2 separate regions of the Homo sapiens genome follow, and region 1 is linked to region 2. Evidence: promoter capture Hi-C in 16 types of primary human blood cells and fetal thymus (Javierre and others, 2016). All regions are on one chromosome and are shown on one strand. Each heading gives the region's core, a stretch centred on a gene start or on the middle of the fragment in contact. The rest is flanking DNA. Distances are from core to core; before and after follow the strand shown.

Region 1 (5,898 bases), core at 3,115-5,614, 1.1 Mb before region 2:
GAAAAATATGATGATTTTAATTAATTAAAAAACCCAAAAACATTTATGGATGAAGGTGGTGGAAGGTAGTCCAATCACAGAATCTCTCTCATCCAGTAAGATGAAGAAAGACAACAGTCACAGATTCACCAGGAGCAACCAAACAAGGAAAGTGTCCAGTCTCATGCAAAACTTCTAAGAGTGCTGGCCACCAAACAGAAACAAAAGATTCATCCACTTCTGTAAGCAGTTGCCCAGAAAGAAGACGATTTGAAAAAATCTGAGAATTCTGGCTATGAATGAATTCCATTTTGGTAAGAGATGGTTTAAAGTAATGATTCTCAAAATGAGGGCTGCAAGCAGTTTCAGGGGATCTGTGGTCAAAACCCATCTTACAAACAGTTTCAGGGGGTCTGTATGGCCCAAGCTATTTTAATGACTATACTAAGGTTTTATTTATCATTTTCACCATGGTAACATTTTTACTGAAGGTACTAAAGCAATGGTGGGTAAAACTGCTGGCAGTTTAACAAGAATCAAGGCTGTGGCAACACATTTTCTTGGTAGCCACTGTATATCTAATCACTGCACATATAGAGTAAAAAATAAACCAACAATTTCACTTAAGAATGTCCTTGATGAAGGTGTGTATTACGATTATCCCCATTTTACAGATGAGAACATTGAGATGCACAGATGTTAAGTATGTTTTTCAAGGTCAAACAGCCAATAAGTGGTAGAACTGGAATTCCAATCTGGGCAGTATGGCACTAGAAAAAAATAGATAGTACAATTCAATTTATTCATTCACTATATTTTTATTGAGTACTTAATATGAGGCAGATACTACTCCAGGGATCGGAGATACAAAATGATTATCCATCTGTCCATCCAAACATCCATTCATTATTCTCTCTGCATATGTGCATAGAGACCTATAGTAATTTCTAGGTAGTATAATTTTAGGTTAGATGCCTCTCTCTTCTTGGTAGTTTTCTGTACTGCTTGAATTTTACAAATAATGAGCATAAGCTATTTTTATTAAAAACAATAAAGTAATTATTCTTAAGACAAAACTGAACACAACTAATTTCTCTTTTGAAGAAAATACAAAGTAAAATTTCAAGTCTTAAAGGAGTATGAAAAGACTGCTCTGTTCTTTCTTCCACTTTTAAGTATTCTTTCTTCCCACTACCTACATAGCAACAGAATATAGTATACGGAAAATTCTTTTCTAAAATTGATTTAGAAGACAAAGTCTCCAAAATCTTCCCATCCCACACAGCAGATACTAAAGCAATTCTTTTTAAAATACATTATTACAAAGATTCTTTATAAAAAATTAACTGAAAATTCTAGTGGTATTATTGAATCTCAAATAAAAAGAATGCTAATGATGAAGTTATACATAGAACATCACTCATATGCACACTTTTCAGAAATTAGACACTTGCCTTCAGGGGAAATGAGTTCTGTGAAAGTGAAAATGGCATATTCAACTAGTCTTCTTATTCCTGGGGAGAGAATAGCATACACATTTTAACAACAACATCAGGAATACATAAAAGTACGTGTCCTAATAAAATCTAGATGTTTCTTTGTAACCTGATTGATAGTGCTTTTTCAATTGATGGAATTACTAAGATATTTGCATTTAAATTTTTTCTCAGTTTTGGTTTTAATTCACATTCATTATTTATATAGTGGATAGGACAATCATATGCACTAATGTATATTTTAATTTTACAGGGTGAAAATTTGTGATGCTCCAAAGCTTTTGTTTTCAAAAATTTTGGACCAGTACGGGGTGCTTTTTTTCTTTTCTCTATCAAAACTTGTTAGGGTTTCAGAATAAATTGGCCATCCTAATGTGGAAGTCTAGGAATCTGGGTATCCACCTTCTTAGAACCAATAATTCCCTTTATTATAAAAGTATTCGAGGAACATTAAATGCACTGATTGAACCTATTTGTTCTTCCAGGGTCCAGACCTCTAATCTTTATTCTTTAGACATGTTGTTTACAAATGCCAGTCTTAGATTGGTGCTGAACTGACCACATACAAATACAAGCAGAGCTTATTAAAAAGATACATTTATAGTCTCTACTTTGAGAAATTTTAATTTAGTAGTTTAGAATTGGAAGCCAAAATTTATATTTGTGAAGAGTTCTCCAGATTATTTTCATATATAGCCAGATCTGAGAACTACTGACTTAGAATATCCTAAAAAAGACAGGTGGATCATGAGGTCAGGAGATCGAGACCATCCTGGCTAACATGGTGAAACCCCGTCTCTACTAAAAATACAAAAAATTAGCCGGGCGTGGTGGCGGGCATCTGTAGTCCCAGCTACTCCAGAGGCTGAGGCAGGAGAATGGTGTGAACCCGGGAGGCGGAGCCTGCAGTGAGCCGAGATCATGCCACTGCACTCCAGCCTGGGCGACAGAGCAAGACTCCGTCTCAAAAAAAAAAAAAAAAAAAAATGACAGAGCTGTGATGTCACATGGAGCAAACACTTTCTTGGTTAATTTACTGTCACCCCAAAAAAGACATGGAGAAATATCTTGCTAGATTTCCATATTCTCCTGTTTCCCAAGTTTTAGTCAGAATTACAACTAAAGAAGCCAATAAGCATTTTTGTTAGCTGAAACACTTAAAAACTATTAAAAATATCAAAACTTCAGGGGGAAGAAACATTTATCATGAAGCTAATGAAGCTTAAGTTCCACAGCTAATCACATGCATGGGCCACTCTGAGTGCTGATTATTGTTGAAAGTGGCAGTGCCCTGAGTGAAGAGTGGAAGCCAGGTTGCAATCAGAATGCATTCTTTGTAAGTGTATCTGGGAAATGGCCTAAAGAGATCTCAGACAATGTGTGTCTGAATCTCCAAGGCACCAATACACTTATTATTATATTTTTTTATTATAAATAAATATTCATTTTTGTATCTAATTTTGTATTCATGATTTGCATACTTTTTCTTACAGTTGTTTTTCCCAAACAAACACTATTCAAGTCCTATATAACCTGGATCCATCCATGTGTCAATGATCAATATTAAGGATTCAGTGCAGAAATATCAGGGCTATTTAGAGGTATTCCATTGGAAAATGATTACACATGAGATCACTTGAAAATGCACATTAGCAGATAATCTTTGAAGACTCCTCTAAGAAGAATCTGGGTAGAGGGTGCAAAGGTCTTGTAGAAAGAAAGAGCATGGCATATTCAAGGAAATAAAATTAATAGGTTAGAAACTGAAGCAAATAGTTCAAGGGGAGGTTGAGGGGAGATGAAACCACAGGAACCAATCACTGAAGCCACATTAAGGAGTTTTAACCTTGTCCTTAAGGCGAAAGGAACTACCAAAGTGTTCTAAGCATAAAATTGACAGGAGAAAAATTATATTTTTGCAAATTTATTCCGGGCTGTGATGTGTAGATCAGAGGGTTGTCTCAGTACACTTTTGCTGCTATAACAAAATACTACAAACTGAATAATTTACAAATTATTCAGTCTTGAATAATTGGCCTCCTGGTTCTGGAGGCTAGGAAGTTCAAGATCAAGGTTCCAGCATTAGTGTTTGGTGAGGGGTGCTCTCTGCTTCTAAGATGCTGTCCCATTGCTGCAGCCTCCAGAGGGACAAACACTGTGTCCTCTCATAGCAAAAATGACAGGGAAGAGGGTGCTCTCTTCAACCTTGAGCCCATTTATAAGGATGTTAATCCTGATAGTGACAGGAAACAGACAAATTCCTTAGGCAGACAGGGACAAGTCCCCAGTGAAATCCAACCTTCAAGCCAAGGGCAGTCTAAAACCTGAAAACCAAGCTGCCACTTCTGGATAGAGTCCATGACAGGAGTGAGAACTTCCATCCCTGTCTTGCCCAGTCTCTCTTGGTTGGTTCCTTCTGAATGATGCCTTTTCAATCCAAAGGTGCTTTTTCCAAGACCAGCCATGGACAAATCAGCGTGCATTCCCCTATTTTAAGCCCATAAAAACCCCAGATGACAACCCACTTTTGGGTCCCCCTCCCACTGACAGCTTTCTTTCTGTGGCTCAATAAAATTCTACTCTGCCTTACTCACTCTCCAGTGTTCATGTACCTTATTCCTCTTGGTTGTGGGACAAGAACCTGGAACTCACTGAAATGCAGGAGTGGAAGCTGTGCTGAGCTGTGGGCAGCAGGAATAAAAGAGCTGTAACTCTCTCTCCCTCTCATGGAACAATGGGAGAGAAGAAGCGAAGCTGCTGGGCACCACTCCCTCCTACTAACCAAGGTATGGGAGTGAAGAAGTGAAGCCACTGGGTGCCACTCCCTCCTGCTTGCTGAACTATGGGAGTAAAAAAGCTGCAACAATCCCATTCATGAGGGCAGAACCCACAGGTCTAATCACCTTTCAAAAGTCATACTTCTTAATACTACTGCATTGGGCATTAAGTTACAACATGAGTTTTGGAGAAGACATCATGATTTAAACCATAGCATTCCACTCTTGGATCCTCAAAATTCATGTTTTTCTCACATACGAAATACATCATTCCATTCCAGTAGACCCCAAAAGTCTTAACTTGTTTCAGAATCAACTTTAAAGTCTAAGTCCAAAGTCTTATCTAAATATCATCTAAATCAGATGTGAGTGAGACTCAAGGTATAAATCATCTCAGGCAAATTACTCTCTAGCTATGAGCCTGTGAAATCAAACAAATTATCTACTTTCAAAATACAATGGTGAGATAGGCATGACACAGACATTTTCATCTCAAAAGGGAGAAATAGGCAAGAAGAAAGAAGTAATACGTTTCAAGTAAGTCCAAAACCTAAAAGGGAAAACAACGTTGAATATCAAGTCTTGAGAATAATCTTCTTCAGCTCTATCTCCTGTCTTACGGACTTACTGAGACTGAAGTTGGGCTCCAAAGGCCCTGGGGGATCCCACCCCCATGGCTTTGCTGGATGCTGCTCATGCAGCAGTTCTCATGAGTTGGAGTCATGTGCCTGCAAGCTGGGATTGCACTCTGGCAGTTCTAGAGTTCTGGAGTTTCAGGGCAGCCTTACTCCCACAGCTTCATGAGACATTGACTAAGTAGAGACTCTGTGGTGGCCCCACCTTCACAGACCTGCTAGGCATTGCCCTGGTGGGGACTTTTTGCAGTGGCCCCACCCCATGACTCTGCTAGGCATTGCTCTACTGGAGACTCTCTGCAGCCACCCTGCTCCTGTGGCATTTCTTTGCCTGGCCACCTGAGACTCTCTGAGTCATCCTTTGAAATCTAGGTGGAGGTAGCAATACCTCCACAGCTTGTGTACTTTGCATGCTTGCAATCTTAGCACCACTTCAATGATGAATGTTGATACCTTTTAACCCCACAGCTGGGAGCAGTTCACCAGAGTATGGGGGAGGAGAGACTTGAGGTGACCCTGGGCAGCAAACCCCAAGGTTCCACAGGTGCCCTGGGCCCCTCCTTTGAAACTTCTGCCTTCAAGTCTCTGGTATTCTTGGCCTGTGATGGGAGTGGCAGTCTCAAAGATCTCCAAAATGCCTTCAGAGTTATTCTTCCATTGTTTTGATCAATAGCATCTGGCTTCCCTCTATTCATACTAATTTCCTTATCAATGAGTAGCTTGGCCACATCCTCAGTTTTCCCTCCTTAACCATACTTTTGTTCTTTATATAACCAAGCTGAAATTTTTTCAAATCTTTACCTTCTGCTCTACTTTTGACCGTAAATTCAATCTCGAGCATTTTTTCTCTTCTCACACTTTACTATAAGCGGTTAAGAAAAGCCATGCACCACCCTGAACACTTTGCCTAGAGATTTCTTCCACCAAATGTCTTAGTTCATGGCCCTTAAATTTTGCCTTCCACAAAGGATTAGGACATGAACATAATTCAGGCAGTTCTTTGCCACTTTG
Region 2 (5,854 bases), core at 1,607-4,106:
ATTATAGGCCTGGCCTGGCATCTTAAAGCTCAAGATTCAAATGGATAATTTAAAAAATGTTCTTAGTGTTTTTGTATTATATTTTTTTATATTGTGTGCAATTATGGAAATATTTTTAAAATTTGTTATCTCTAATGAATTCACAATATATGCAGAAAAAGTTGCTAGAGTGAATAAAGTTGCATAGAAAGTGACTTGTCCACTTGCCAACATTTTTCTGTTTTGCATTGCCTGGGCAGTTACCAACTTGCTTTTGTATTCAAGCAAGACGAAGAAATTACCATTCATGCATTTACCCATTTTTGCTCAGGGCTCAAACAGGGTACCACATTAGTAACTTTTAAAGAAATGATTAGCGAAAGTTGAAAATTTTCACCTACTATAGAAGCTGTCCTTTGTATCAGACAAATCAAACCAAACAAGATTTAAGGCTTTTAGAAAGAGTATTGGTTTCATATATATTTGAAATTTCAGAATCACATCTGCCTCTCAGGCCCAGAGTCTATTTAAGAAACTACAATCACTTTTTTTGTTTTCAGTTTTCAAAGCTTGATACAACCTAAATACTGTTTTTTTATCCAAAATCCAGTCTTAGGAAGGTACTATCTTTTTATAAAGGTCTAAATACTCTTTTATTTTCATATATAAACATGAAGATAATTCTGGAGATTTCCCTAAATAAAACCCAATGTGAACAATCAATGCTGAGAGGCAACCTGAGCTTTTCTTCTCTCATTGTTCCTTTTTATTTTGCAGAAAACTCTGAAGCATTTAGTCACCTAACCTATTGAAGAAGGGTGAGCTCACCTGGGCCTTGAGTACCTGAATCAAGTCAACTTTAGAAGATGAAACTGGGGGGAAAGGGGAGATACCCAAGAGAATGTGTCATACTCAGTAATAAGTAAGGTAGCTTGTTAATATCCACTATCAGTTTTGGGTATAGGTGACTAATATCCTTCTACACTGCCATTATTGAACTTAATGTCTACTTTCAGAAATGTATCCTAGGTGATCTCCCAGCCTATTCCTCCACTCTGAATATTTCAGTCTCAATATACAAAAGGGTTTGATCCCTTTGAACATGCAGCAGGCATAGACGTGTCTGGAACATGAGGTACAAATCTGAGAAACTAACAGTCCAGCTTACCTGATTCCTAAAGAACAACCCCCATTTCTATCCCCACATCTCTATGTCTGGGTTCCCCAACCCCAGCTTCCATCTTGCCTGTTTTTCCTGGGTTAACCTAATGGACACAATTATTAGCATCTCCATAGTCTGAAATTTGTAAATTAATGTGCATCAGTATCTGCTCTGGAAAGCTGTGGATGATGCATCAGTATTTAGCAGTTACATCAAGCAATTTAGTCACCTAGATTTGTGATTTGGTTGGTGGCCTTTCAGATGGGATGTCTGGCAGTAGGAAGATACCTCCTCCTGGATCATGGCTCAGCTGGCTCTGAGTTCCCACTTTAATTTCTGGCTTAGTGGAAGCTAGGAAGTGATTCAGTGGAAGTGAAATTGAATCTCAAAGCATTTCCTAAATAAGCAGGTGTCCTTTTTTGGTTGAGGCAGACTCTGGCTCCCTAAGGCAGACAGAGGGGATACAAAGTATATTCCTACTGTTTTCAGGCTGTCTTTGTTTCCGGAGTAAAAGATGGAATAGAATTTTTTTTCCTCAGTCTAGCACCACTTAGTAAATTTCTTTCCAGTTTATTATAATTATTTTTAAGTTTTAGCTTTTGATAGCATTGCAAGTCTTTTTTTCCTTTTGCTGTCACAAGCAATTTAACTGAGAGCTGTTAGACCACTGTCATTTGAAACAGGCATCTCTGCTACCATCTACCATCTGTTTAACTGTTATTAAAGTCTCAGATAATGTGTATGATTCTAAAATACACAGTAGTAAGTTATTTTGTGTTCATTTATCTGCCTAGAGTCTGAGAAGTTGATTCTTTGAAAAATAAGCCAAGTTGTAGTTTATCTTTCAGGAGGGAAAATTTTCTTGGTCAATCTCCAGCCTTCTACTTATTTGTAGTCTACCGTTTTGATTATGAGTTCTGGAAAACTCTGTATAACAGAAACTTCTCTTAAATTGTTATGAATTGTTACATAAGAGCCACGATTTCTCATCTGATCCTTCAAATAGATGTTCCCAGGAAGTTGCTTGATATTGGATTTCAAGAAATACTCTATTTCCTCAGGAATTGGTATGTTGTGATTAAATACAACTCTGCCGTCGGTGATTGTGATTCAGACTCCCACATGGTGGGGATTCAGTGAGTTGTGTTTCAACAGCATAGTGATTTGGGGCACATGTTTTATAATCCTATACATGGACAGTGAGAATATTGTTGCTGTGTGTGGCAGACACGTGGTATTGATTGCTGATTCTGAACACAGCAGCCATTCTCCTACCCCTTTTTCTAAGCTGACAGAACCTGACTTTCATGAGTGAGGCTGCAAATGTCAGATGCCCCCTTGCAGCTAGAGGTAGGCATATGACCCAGTTCTGACTAGTGAAGCATAATTGGAAGTCTATTGAGAGGCTCTTAGGAAAGATTCTCTTCCTTGATAAAGAGTCAGGGTGGGAGAAGAGAAGCTCCACAGCACCTGATTAGAAAAAAGAGGCAGAGAGACCCCAACCCTCTCTTCCTGCCTATGAATATTGATGTGAGAAGAAGTGGTATTTGGAGCTACTGGAGTCATTATGTGACAAAAAGATGTCCTTAGCAAGTAAGGGATGGCACTCAAGCCACTGAAACACCCCTGGACTTATCTCCCTCCAAACCTTGCAGTAGTTATTCCCTGTAGTTACCGATATCCTGTTCTTCTCTACTCCTGGACACACAGGGACACAGCATTTCTCCACCAAAGCATGGCTCCATGACTCGGTAGATGAAATGAAATGTTGCCAGAAGCGTCGTGTGCTATCTCGTGTTTGACTCTCTACCTGCTCTTCCCCTGCAGTAGTAATCGTGGGAGCATGTATATTTACGGAGGTGTCATAAGATCAAACAGCCTGGAAGGAAGAGCCAATGCCTGAAAAACAGCTGCTGTGACGAGCTGCCTGAACCCTCAGCCAACTTTGTTACTTTGTGTGAGTAAGAAATTAACTTCTGTTGTGTTAAGCCACTGGTGGGGGTTGTTTGTTACCATAGCATAAAGTAGTTTATCATGCCTGATACAATCTGTATTCTTTTAAGCCATTTATAATTGGTAGGCTCCTCCATGTAGCTGAAAACATCCTAATTCATACTATACACAGCATTTGACATGAAAACAACTTTCCTGTAAAATGAGACATTTGCCTTCATGGCAAAATAAATATCGACTACTTTTGCTTGCCAAGATGCCAATCTCTTTCTAGAAACAGCATCCCAATCTTACTTAAGGAAACCACTGCAGCAGACATGGCCATGCTCTGCCCATGTCTTCTCAGCACTTGCTTCTACTCACAGAAGATTGCTGTCACTGCAAACTCCTGTGTCTCTGCTTGAGAACTTTCGTCTGGTTGCAATAGAACACTCATCTCACACACAGGACAAGCCAAAAGTGCCCAGGAGTTAATGCCCAGAAGCCCCCAGCAAATTGTGTAAATAATAGATAATGTTGAAAAATATCCTAGCTTCCTCACTTCTGGGTTGAGATAACTCTGATGTGTGTTCTAGATTGTCTCCCTGTGGAATAAAGCTCCAATTGCTCATTGTGGGAACTGCTTTGATAACACATCCTTTATTGGCTTCTCTTCCTTCCCTGCCTCTCTTCTCCACTCCCCTACTGAGGTTTTCTAGGATCATATCCAAAATAAACCACTTGTTCTTGAAACCTTGTTTCAGAGTCTGCTCTGGGGGAACCCAAACCAAGACGTCATTCTCTCCAAGGGGAACCAATCTTTTTGGGACTGGCAGTTAAGTTAGATTACTTGCTCTGTCTTTAATATTTGGATCTTGAACAGAATCCCACAAAGACTATCTTTAGGGAGATAGACGCTTTTCAAAGGGTCTGCTTGTTAGTTCCTTCTTTATGGATTCCTGCAGTTCTTTTTGATACTTCTTTTCTGAGCCAGATTTTTGGTTTCTCTTCCATTCTATTAGTTACCTTATATCCCTTCAATACATTCCTTTTGGGATGAAATAGCTAGAATTTCTTCCTGTGGCTTGCAGTAAAAGAAAACAATGAATTTAAACAACACATTAAACCTCTTTCAGATATAAAGACTGATATAAATGAATGAGTTATAAAATGTATAAGAGCACTAAATGCTATATTTTAATTATTCACGAAATCAAATCCATAGGAGTCACTTTAAAATGTCAATGTTTTCATGTTTCTTTATATTTCATTTGAAATAGTGTCTCTAGCCAGTGAAAATGTCTTTACAGCATTTCAATACAATGCCCATGAACAATTATTGATCTGGAAGGGTAAAATAACTTGGTAGTGGTGGGACGGGTCATTGTGGTTGTTGTTGTTTTATTTTGTTTTGTTTTTATCTGGGGTGGTTACTAAGTTTCCATTATCTAGTGTAGTACTTTTAATTAAACATTTTTAAGATAAAAAAACTTTTTAAGGCATTTCTATGCGAAGAAACCTGGATTGCTATAATAATAGAGAAAATTTGTTTATTTATACAAACCTTACATACCTAACCATGAGGATTCATACAGCAAAGCTGTTTAAATATGATTTAAAGAAGATCCCCTAATGCCCAAATCTATGACAAGTTGAGTAACAAAATTAATAATGAGAATAATGGACTATAACCCCCAAAATAAAAAATATATATTGATGAGTCCATACTGATACCAATCATTCAAGAAATAAATAAGAGAATTCAAATTAATAAATATAGAAGAAATAACAGAAATATAAAATCATCATTTGATAACATTACAGTAATAATTACCTCAATCAAGAATCATTAATAGGTAAGGGTGTGATGAAAAACAGGATATTTACATGGTCTCAATTATCTTGCCACGAGAAATTTACCAAATACAAAGAGGAAAATAATGTTAAGTGAAGAAAATTTGAAAGACTGCCTTATCCAAGTGATCTAAGTTAACATCACTAGTAATTAGACAAAATGTCATTATGTGCCTCCTGATTTGATGTGTTTAGAAGGTGTGATGGTTCATTTTATGTGTCAACTTAACAGGGCCATGTAGTGCCCAGATATTTAGCTAAACATTACTTATGGGAATGTCTATGTGGGTATTTCTTGATGAGGTTAACATTTGAATTAGTAAACTGAATAAAGCAGATTTCCATCTGCAATGTGTGCGGGCCTCTTTCCATTTTTTGGAGGCCTGAATGGACTAAAAGTATTCTGTTGGTGCAAAGTAATCATGGTTTTTGCCATTAAAAGTAATGGCAAAATACTTTTGCACCAACCTAATATAAGTGAGAAAGAATGTTTTCTCTCTTCCTGTCTTCAAACTGTGACAGAAGTCTTCTGCTTTTGGGCCTAAATTCAGACTGAATCTTACATCATTGGCTTTCCTGGTTCTCAGACCTTCACTGTCAGACTGGAACCAACACTATCAGCTCACTTGCTTCTCAGGCCTTCCTACTCAAACTGGAATGTATGTACCATCAGCTCTTCTGCCGGGACTTCTCAGTCCCCATAATCACATCAGCCCATTCCTTATAATAAATCTCTCTCAATCCCTCTCTCTCTGTCTCTCTCTCACACACACATACATTCTCTCTCTCTATCTCCTACTGGCCCTATGTATTAGTCTGTTTTCATGTTGCTGATAAAGACATACCCAAGACTGGGAAGAAAAAGAGGTTTAATCGGACTTACAAGTTCCACATGACTGGGGAGGCCTCAGAATCATGATAGGAGGA

Evidence for each region. Contacts are between HindIII fragments. The CHiCAGO score rates a contact against its expected background, and 5 or more counts as called.
Region 1: a contact is called between a fragment that was not itself captured here and the fragment with the promoter of PLCH1-AS1 in region 2, in 1 of 17 cell types (M1 macrophages). The highest score is 5.7, in M1 macrophages.

The regions. Positions count from the first base shown.
Region 1 is chr3:154,359,848-154,365,745 of GRCh38, forward strand. The region is part of intron 3 of GPR149 (G protein-coupled receptor 149); the gene reads right to left. Among named protein-coding and RNA genes, the nearest start is that of DHX36, 38 kb to the left of the region's middle. RefSeq lists an enhancer at 3,703-3,872. The HindIII fragment of the contact is 3,340 bases long and covers 2,695-5,898 here.
Region 2 is chr3:155,446,328-155,452,181 of GRCh38, forward strand. PLCH1-AS1 (PLCH1 antisense RNA 1) reads left to right here and starts at 2,857. Exons shown (of 2, transcript NR_046746.1): 1 at 2,857-3,098. It also overlaps a transcript of PLCH1 not described here. The HindIII fragment of the contact is 6,189 bases long and covers 547-5,854 here.